2 separate regions of the Homo sapiens genome follow, and region 1 is linked to region 2. Evidence: promoter capture Hi-C in 16 types of primary human blood cells and fetal thymus (Javierre and others, 2016). All regions are on one chromosome and are shown on one strand. Each heading gives the region's core, a stretch centred on a gene start or on the middle of the fragment in contact. The rest is flanking DNA. Distances are from core to core; before and after follow the strand shown.

Region 1 (4,611 bases), core at 1,172-3,671, 1.5 Mb before region 2:
TACTCAACTGGGCTACTTACAAAAAGAACAAAGTTTAATACTGGTACATATTGAATTCCACCTGCTGTTTGTGAACGCTGAGCACAGCAGCCCTAGGTTTGGCAAGGCTGGATTTCCTTACCCATTGGTGTGACAGTTGCATTGTAATGTGGTATAATCCATAGGTTGAATGCAGGGCTTTGAGAATTTAAAATATTTGCATCTTCACAAGAAATATTTGGAAAGTTTGTATAAGGCCTAGTAAATCCAGTTGTGAGTGAATAGAATTTACCAAACTAAATTCACCTAGCATATGAAAATGTACATAAAACAAAATTAACAGGTAGTTGCTCATACTTAACAAAAAGATATTTAGTGCTTCTCATCACACTCAATTATTTCACATAATATTCTATTGTTTTCTTTCTCCTAAAAAATAATTGTTTTAAGCTCTCAGCTCTTCTCTTTTAATTTGAGCAAACTAAAAATATCTTGAGAATGGCCCATCTCACCTCATCAAAGAAGTTTCCTTTGTATCAAGTTTATTAATTCACTCATCCTTTCCTGATCTTTGATACTGAGACTGCTATAAAAAGGACAATGGATGCTAAAGATAACACGTGAAGTAGGTTTGTTAGACCTTTTTTTTGACCCTTGGTATCTTCAGCTTTCTGAAGGCCAGGTAATGTCTGCATTCTGAATATGTTAGGGGACATATGAATCCATAGGACATATTTTAAGCAGAATTGTATCATTGTTTCCCTTGTTGCTATTTTACTTTCCCAAACCATTGCAGAGCTTTTTGCCAATGACATTTTCTCATCCGCAGCCAGCTCTGCCACTCTTTTGCTATTTCTTCTGTCGACTTCCATTTTAATTTAAAAAATAAATTTATAATTTTTTTAGTTCTGTTTTGTCAATGTATACCTGCAGCCGCACACACATTTGATTATAGCTGCATAGTGTGGAAAATCTTGCAATTAGATTCCAAAATGACAGCCGGTGTAATTTACAAAGTACAAAAGTGTTATGTTAAAGCACTCTCAGCAATAAATAAAAATAGCTTTTTTGGAGGAGGAAATAACTTTGGAGAGAACTAGGCTGGAGGAGGAAGCAATCTACACTCTTAGGAAAGGAAGAGCCACATCTAGGAAAGCATCCGAGGGACAAGGACAACAGAAACACAAGAGGCTCTTGATCTCAGGCAGTCCTCCAAGAGGCACCTGACAGAGGGCAGTTAGGTTGCCTTGATTTGCCAGTTTCTGTCCTGAAAGATACACTGGACCTTTATTTCCCAAGGACTACTCATTCAGCATTGTTGAGCACCTAAATTGTGCTGGAGATCGCACAGGAACTGGGCTTGCGAAAATGAAAATTGCACACAGTTCCTGTCTTCAGGCGCTCACAGAGTTTTTAAAACAGAACATCTTAAGAGGGAGTTATAAGGGGCCCTGTTGCAAAAAGAGAGCAGCAACTAAAATCTTGGAAAAGCCCTCAGGACACCACAGAGGAAGCAAGCTGTGATCACAGAACTTTGAAAGGCTTTTGTATCTTTCGACAATAAATGATCAAGTGAAGTAAATACATTGTCCAGAAGAGAAAGAATTGGGATGGAGGATGAGATTTTATATGGAAGGATTAAAACATATTTAACTGGAGCAGGGACTTACAGGGACAGGCAAGTCAGTAAAGGGCCCAGGTTACAAACGAGTTATAACCGATCAGACCGACGAGCGCCCGCGTGCAGCGCCTCCTGCCGACGCGCGCCTCGCAGCCTTCAGTCAATGCTGACAGCTGTTCTCCAACACCCAGCTAGGGGCGGGAGGGTCCGCCCACTTCTACCAGATTTTGCACACAAAACAGTGGAAAGACCATTCTCATGGCTCCAAGCCGTTTTCTCCCTTCATCGCCTGCAATTTTAGGGCTTTTCGGGGGGTATGACTGCAGGGATTTTAGAGGTTTTTTTCCTCATTCTCTTTTTAAGAGGTGATAAAAAGCATTTAAATTAGCGGCAGGGCGGTTAACACCCGCAGCCCTAGCCTCTCCGCACTTCTCGTCGCTCGTCCGTGTTCACTCCACGCCTGGCCTCGGGTAGGAGCCGCATAGCGCCAACGGTTGCGGGTCGCAACTACTCCCAGGCGGCGCGCCTTGCGCGCCGGGCCTCCCAGGACCGCGGCGAGTTCAGAAGGCGCGGGGAGAGAAGTGAGGTCGAGCAGCGGGCGGCTTTTGACGAACGGCCCTCACAGCCAATGGGAAGCCCGGTCGACTTTCCCGCCCCTGCCAATAGGGAGCAGAACCCGGGCCGGGGGGGGCGCTTCCCGCAGGCTGCGGCTGGATTCGATCCTGCGCGACGGCCGCGAAGGCGGGGGCGGAGGCTCGGCCTGCGCGGCTGGGAGCGGCTTAGGGGAGGAGGGAAGACCGGAAGCCACGGTTGCGTCCCCATCCTTAGATTCGCTCCTCCGGGCAGGGAGCGGAGACGGAGGAGGAGGAGGGAGAGGCTGAATGTTGGCTCGGTAATTGAGAGGAGCGGCCGCTCCAGAGCTTCCTCCCGGGGCGCCCCCCTCAGTCCGTCCGCGCTTCTCAGCCGCCAGTCTCCTGGCCGCGCAGTCCCCGCGGACGGCCGGGCCGCGGAGACCCTCGCAGAAGAGGCGCTGCCGGCGGCGAGGACTGGCCGGCGGCATCCGAGGCGCGCGCCCCACCGCCACCCCCACCCGCCTGCCAGCCGGTCCCTCCGGCCGCCGCCATGTCCTCCTCCTCTTCCTCCCCCAGGGAGACGTACGAGGAGGACCGGGAGTACGAGAGCCAGGCCAAGCGTCTCAAGACCGAGGAGGGGGAGATCGACTACTCGGCCGAGGAAGGCGAGAACCGCCGGGAAGCGACGCCCCGGGGCGGGGGCGATGGCGGCGGCGGCGGCCGGAGCTTCTCTCAGCCGGTAACAAAGCGCGGCCCCCCTGTCCGCTGTGCCTGGCTGCTCCCCGGGAAGCAGGGCCTCGGTGCGGGGCCTCCCGCTTGCTTCAGTTAGCCTTTTCCGCTGCGCCGACCCGTTTGGGGAAGCGCCCACTCTTCTCTTTGGGGCTCGTATTCTGGCCTCTACCTGTTTCCCGCATCCCGACTGCGAACCCGGCGCCGTCCTGGCCGCAGGCCCCGCAGCGAGTCCACTGCCGGGCCCTGAACTTGGGGAGGGTCGCGGCGCGGCGGCGGCGGCGGGGAGGCGTCGCTTCCGCTCTGGGGGGTTTCGCGGCTCGGGGAGCTCTTTGTTAGTTTAACTCCTCGGGCTCGGGGCCAGCGTCGGGACCACCGGTTCTCTTCAGTCCCTCTGCCCGCAGCAGCCGCGCGTTGGTCACCATCCCGGGATGGTTGCGTCGGTTCTACCGGGAGCTCTCTCCGCCTCGGTCCTATGGAGACCCGTAATTAAATAACAGATTATGCCTTGGCGTTCACATGCTAGTTCCCTTGAAGGTTTAATTTAAAAAATTTTAAAATTAAACTCTTTATAAGCATGGCGTGCATCCTTTGCTCTACCCAATTTTGTGGATTACTCAGTACACTTTTTACCTCTTCGGTTACAACACTTCAACAGAAGTGTTGGCAGCTGTTGGTACACCCCTACCTTCAAGTAAAACAAATCTTAAAATTACTAAAGTTTTTCATTGGTAATTTATTCCACATTTGCCCCATGAAAGGATGAAGTGAGCTCAGGGTTGCATTAAACACACATTCCTAGAGCCAGGTCTTTCTCTTACCAGAAATGTTAGGGGGAGGCAGAAGGAATGTGATCATTTTGTCCACAGCAAGTAGTTAGCTTCAGTTGGATGGAGACTTTAAGGAAACAAAGCGGAGCAAACGTTATTGCCCTTTTTTGGTGCACTTAAGCGGTTTTAATGACTTAGATGTTATTTAAACATTTAACACATGAATTGTGATTAATTCTGCAAACTTTAACAGAATTACGAAACTGTACACATATATCCTACTATTAGGTTAAAAGGGTTTTTACCTTACCTTTTAAAAATAAGACGCACATTAGAAGCCCTTTATAGCCGTTTGAATTTTTAAATAATAAAAAAAAAGGCTGGTCAGTCACCCAGCGTTGCAGTTTCCAGTTACCAGGATGTGAGAGCAAACTTTGCAACACATTTAAAAAAGGAACTTTTTCTCTCAGTCTTGTTACGGTGTTAGCTATTACTTTAGATTTTTGTGCCGAGCTATTTGAAATATTCAAAATGTAACTTGGAAGTGTGAATAAAGGAAATGGTTTTTTCTTAGGAAGTTTCAGTTCAAAGCCAACTCTGTTGTGGAAATTGGAAACAGGAATATTATAACTGATATTTCGATGTATTCGATCAGTGTACCTCGTTGCTAGAAATCTTGCTTGGGTTTTTGTGCAGCATCATGAAATGTCTTCAGGCATTTTGGAAAGATACTTAAATCAGATTATAAAAATTTGTTTTTGAAAACAGATAAAGCATTAAATCAATAGTATTATTTTGGATGTTGGGAAGAAAATAACATATAATTAATGTATCCAAAGCGAAATGTGTGGAGCGGTGGAAATGGCACTGAGTAGGGCTTGGGGGTGGTCAAGAGTCTAGGCTTAGCATACAATTTTTTTTTTTTTTTGAGAGGATCTCA
Region 2 (4,426 bases), core at 953-3,452:
ACCTGCCTCACTCGGTCTCCCAAAGTGCTGGGATTACAGGCGTGAGCCACCACACCTGGCCTGGTTTTTTATATTTTTAATGTATATCTTCTCAACTAGATAATGTATATCTTGTGTTAAACACAAAGACAAGTCCCCTATATCCTCCCTACCTACCACTGCATCCCAAACACAAATGCTTAATAATTGTTTAGCAACAATGAGGATAAAAAGGGTCTTTAATATTTGTAATTTTATAACTTTTTCCTATGTCAACAAGTCATTTTTAAACACTTTTTAAATACGTACAGAAAACACATAAAACAAATGTACAGCTTAATACATTTCTGTGAGTCAAACATTCTTGTAACCATGTGGTACCCTCCAAAATGACTCCCAGTCATTCTTGCTGTGTGGTTTTCTACATCCTTAGTGTAGTCTCCTTCCACAGTGAACAGGATTAACCTGTGTAACCAACAGGATTTTGTGGAGATGATGGAGTTGATTTTTTGGTCATAACTGCAGCTCTTAGGTCATTCTAACTTTGAAGTTAGATGACTCACTTGAAGGAAGTCAGTGGTCACATAATAAGGATACTCAAGAAGCTCTATGGAGAAGGTCACACGATTGGAACTGAGTCCTCCTATTAAAAGCCAGCACAAACTCATGAGCCACAGGAGTGAGCTACCTTGGAAATGGATTCTCTTGCTCCAGTCAGGCCTTCAAATGACTCAGCCTGGGCTGGCATCTTCACTGCAACTTCTTAAGAAAGTCCATGCTAAACTAAGCTAAGCTGCTAACAAATTCCTGACCCATAGAAACTGTGAGATAACAAATGATTACAGTTATCTTAAGCTGCTACATTTGGGGATAATTTGTTATGTAGCAAAAGTTATCAGGAAGTAGAACCTTATCAGGCACCTGGGAGCCCTCTTTGTCCCCTATCCAGTTGCAACTCTCTTTTGGTTCTAAGAATAGTCACTATTCTGTTTTTTATGGCAATCATTTCCTTCATTTTCTCGATAGTTTTGTCATCCACGTGTGCATCTTTAAACATTACAGTTTAGTTTACCTATTTTTATTATAAGTTAAAAACGTGCACTATTATATACAGCATTTATGGTAATTCACCCGCTTCCTCTAAACCTCAGATTCTTCATTGGTAATAACAGCATTTTTACACATAATGGTTTAACACTTACCCAGTATATCACACATTTTTATCACATTTAACCACCACTAACAACTCTACAAGGTAGGAAGAGTTTTTCCTGTTGGAGAAATTAAGGTTCAGTATGGCTAAATGACTATTTCAAAACCACAAAGAATCCGGGTCATAGTGCCTTGCAAATAGGATTACATTGTTTTTAAGAGACCTACTTAACTTTAAAGTGCCAGGCACATCTGAATGGGGTTACAGGTTGCTTTTAAAGCTCTCTTTCTATTGGTAAAATATACTTTAGCATTATCCATTTCCATCAAAGATAAGCATAAACTTCACAAGGCGATACCCTGGCAGAGATGATGGAGGCTCGTACCAGAGTGATAGCAATGCAAGTGGTCGCATTTGGGGTACACTTGAAGGTAGAGCTTACAGGATTTGCTGATGTTGTAGGTAGTACGTAAAGAACGATGTCAAGATAACGCTAAGTTTTTGGCCTGAATACATGGAAGAACGGAGTTAACGTTTTTTGAGAGTGGGAAGACTGTAGGAGTAGGTTTGTTTTTGTTTTTTTAGGGGGCGTAGTCGGGAAACAGACATATTGAGAGTCCCATTACATATACAAGTGGAGAAATGGACCTACAGTATAAATGTGACAAGAAACGTCCCACTCTCAATACTACGCTCAGGAACCGCTGATCCCTTCCCTCACGCGTTCCTCCTGGCTGCAAGCGTCCCACAGACGCAACCACCCACGGATGGAAAAGTGGCTGACGGTGTGATACGGTAGTCATGGCCAGCGCACTCTGCCTTTTATCATTCTACCGGTTGTCCCCAGACCCTTACCTGACAGCTCTCTTACCTGACAGCTCTCTGCTCGCCCCGGTTCAGCGCCGTAGAGCGCGCGCTGCGCATGCGCCCACCGACCAGCGTCGGACTTCCGGACCTCGGCTCCCACCAGTTTCCTAGTGCAGACTCTATTGGAAATTCGCGGCGGGTGGGGATAGGAGGACGTGGTGACTGCGCTTGCGCAAGACCAGCCCTCCGCGCAAGCGCTCTTCCCTTGTTTCCTGCAGGTAGGAGTGCGGGAGGTGGGGCATCCGGGTCTCTTGGTGGCTGCTTCTACCCCCGGAGCTCAGCTGATCTTCCCTTCCAGACTACGAGGTGAGGTCGCCGAAGCATGCATGTTGACACGCACGGACTCCTGTCCGACGTACATTTTCAGACGGGTGGGGAAGACATTTGAGTTCGTAATGAACATTTTCCCTTTTCTGGCTCCGTGCTTAGTTCCGAGCTGCCGCCTCGTGCTATTGACAGCCTGCGGAACCCCACGGAGGCTTGCGGCGGCCTCTTGGTGTTTCCCCGGGTCCGCCGCTTGCGGTTCTTGGAGTAGCCAGGTGAAGCCAGACCCCGAGCGCGCGAGGCTTCTCGGGTGCATTCCGGACCGCCTGGTGTTGTCACTGACGCTTCGGCCGCCGGGCCTGGCCGCCCCACCCATCCGCGTAGGAAGAGTCTTGGAGACCTGCAGTTCGGGATGTCTGTGCTGGGTGTTTTGACCTCAGTCCCTCTGGCCAGGTGCAGCGCGGGAGGGTAAAGGTGCTATGTACCGAACCCTGGACGAGAAAAAGAGGAGGATGGTTGTCAAGCCCGGCTGGGGTGTTTGATCTTAGTGCTTCAGTTTTTTCATTTATAGAACGGGTAAATGACATATGTGTTGCTGGACATATTTCTTCTGGAATAATGCCTTTTTTGGCAATAATTTCTTTTAATTTTCTTTTCACTCCATGAGTCACTCTTCCTTACCAAGTAGTTTTCTTCTGTTTTTGTTTGTATTTTTGTCATTTAAAAGTATGTTCTCAGGTTTTGCCTCAAAGAAGTTGAGTTTTTCCCCAAATGAAATGAGTAGTCCTACTTTTCTTAGTGAGTATATTCCATTAAGCTTGACTTTTAACATTAAAAAATACTTACAAGTATTTTTTACTCTGTTAAATTTAAGGTGTGAATTTCAAACTTCCGTAATGGAGTTAGCCCACAGTTTATTGCTAAATGAAGAAGCTTTGGCTCAAATCACCGAAGCAAAAAGACCAGTTTTCATCTTTGAATGGTTGCGATTTCTTGATAAAGTCTTGGTTGCTGCCAACAAGGTATGGTATTGCTCTTTTTTCCCAGTTGCATTAACGTGAAGAGATTATGTGGTCATGATTCTTAAGAAAACACATGTTATGTTTTGGAAGGTTTATGGGTCACTTATGGAACTTGAGAGTATTACACGAATGGGAAATTTAGTGGCAAAACTCAAACCTCGTTTAAATCCAGCTCATTGCCTATCTTCTTTATGTTTGTACCTGGGCAGCTCATTGTAACTGGAGAAAAACATGGCTATATGACTGGTGTCACTTTAAATTTATCATCGTCACCCGTTGCAAGTGATCTCTCTATGCTGCCTAACAATCCCAGTGTCTTCACTTATCTCTTTGAGGAGTCAATAATAGGCTCTTTTTTTTTTTTAATCTGTTTTTTCTTCCTGCATAGCCTTGATTTGCCGAGACCAGCTCGTTTGGGGAGACCCTAACCTAGCGGCGCTAGAGGAATTAAAGACACACACAGAAATATAGAGGTGTAAAGTGGGAAATCAGGGGTCTCACAGGCTTCAGAGCTGAGACCCCGGAACAGAGATTTACTCAAGTGTCTATTAACAGCAAGCCAGCCATTAACATTGTTTCTACAGATATTCGATTAGCTAAAAGTATCCCTTATGGGAAACGAAGGGGTATGCTGAAACAAAGGGGTGGGTCTGGCTAGTTCTGTGCAGCAGGAACATGCCCTTAAGGCGCAGATCGCTCATGGTATTGTTTGTGGTTTAAGAGCGCCTTTAAGCGGTTTTCAGGCCAGGTGTTCCTTGCCCTCATTCGGGTTTCGTTATGGCCATCATGAACATGTCACAGTGCTGCAGAGATTTTATTTATGGCCAGTTTTGGAGCCAGTTCCCAACATTGATTCAACTTACTTTTTATTGTCTGTGTATTTTATATTCTGTCTTTAAAAGTAGATATGGCCCGGCATGGTGGTTCACGCCTGTAATCCCAGCACGTTGGGAAGCTGAGGTGGGTGGATCACCTGAGGTCAGGAGTTCCAGACTAGCCTGGCCAACATGGTGAAACCCCGTTTCTACTAAACACTGCTAAAAGTACGAAAATTAGCCAGGCGTGGTCGTGGGCGCCTGTAATCCCAGCTACTGGGGAGGCTGAGGCAGGAGAATCGCTTGAGCCGGAAAGGCAGAGGTTG

Evidence for each region. Contacts are between HindIII fragments. The CHiCAGO score rates a contact against its expected background, and 5 or more counts as called.
Region 1: the fragment with the promoter of HNRNPLL here is called in contact with the fragment with the promoter of HEATR5B in region 2 in 4 of 17 cell types (monocytes, neutrophils, naive B cells and 1 more); the score reaches 9.8 in monocytes.

Annotation. Positions count from the first base shown.
Region 1 is chr2:38,600,738-38,605,348 of GRCh38, reverse strand. It overlaps HNRNPLL (heterogeneous nuclear ribonucleoprotein L like), which reads left to right and starts at 2,421. Exons shown (of 13, transcript NM_138394.4): 1 at 2,421-2,911. The coding sequence starts at 2,723. RefSeq lists silencers at 2,242-2,311, 2,532-2,581, 2,602-2,701. The HindIII fragment of the contact is 8,602 bases long and covers 1-4,611 here.
Region 2 is chr2:37,082,148-37,086,573 of GRCh38, reverse strand. HEATR5B (HEAT repeat containing 5B) reads left to right here and starts at 2,202. Exons shown (of 36, transcript NM_019024.3): 1 at 2,202-2,305; 2 at 3,138-3,285. The coding sequence starts at 3,160. GPATCH11 (G-patch domain containing 11) reads right to left here and starts at 2,056. Exons shown (of 9, transcript NM_174931.4): 1 at 2,004-2,056. RefSeq lists enhancers at 1,965-2,124, 2,595-2,694. The HindIII fragment of the contact is 3,413 bases long and covers 1-3,082 here.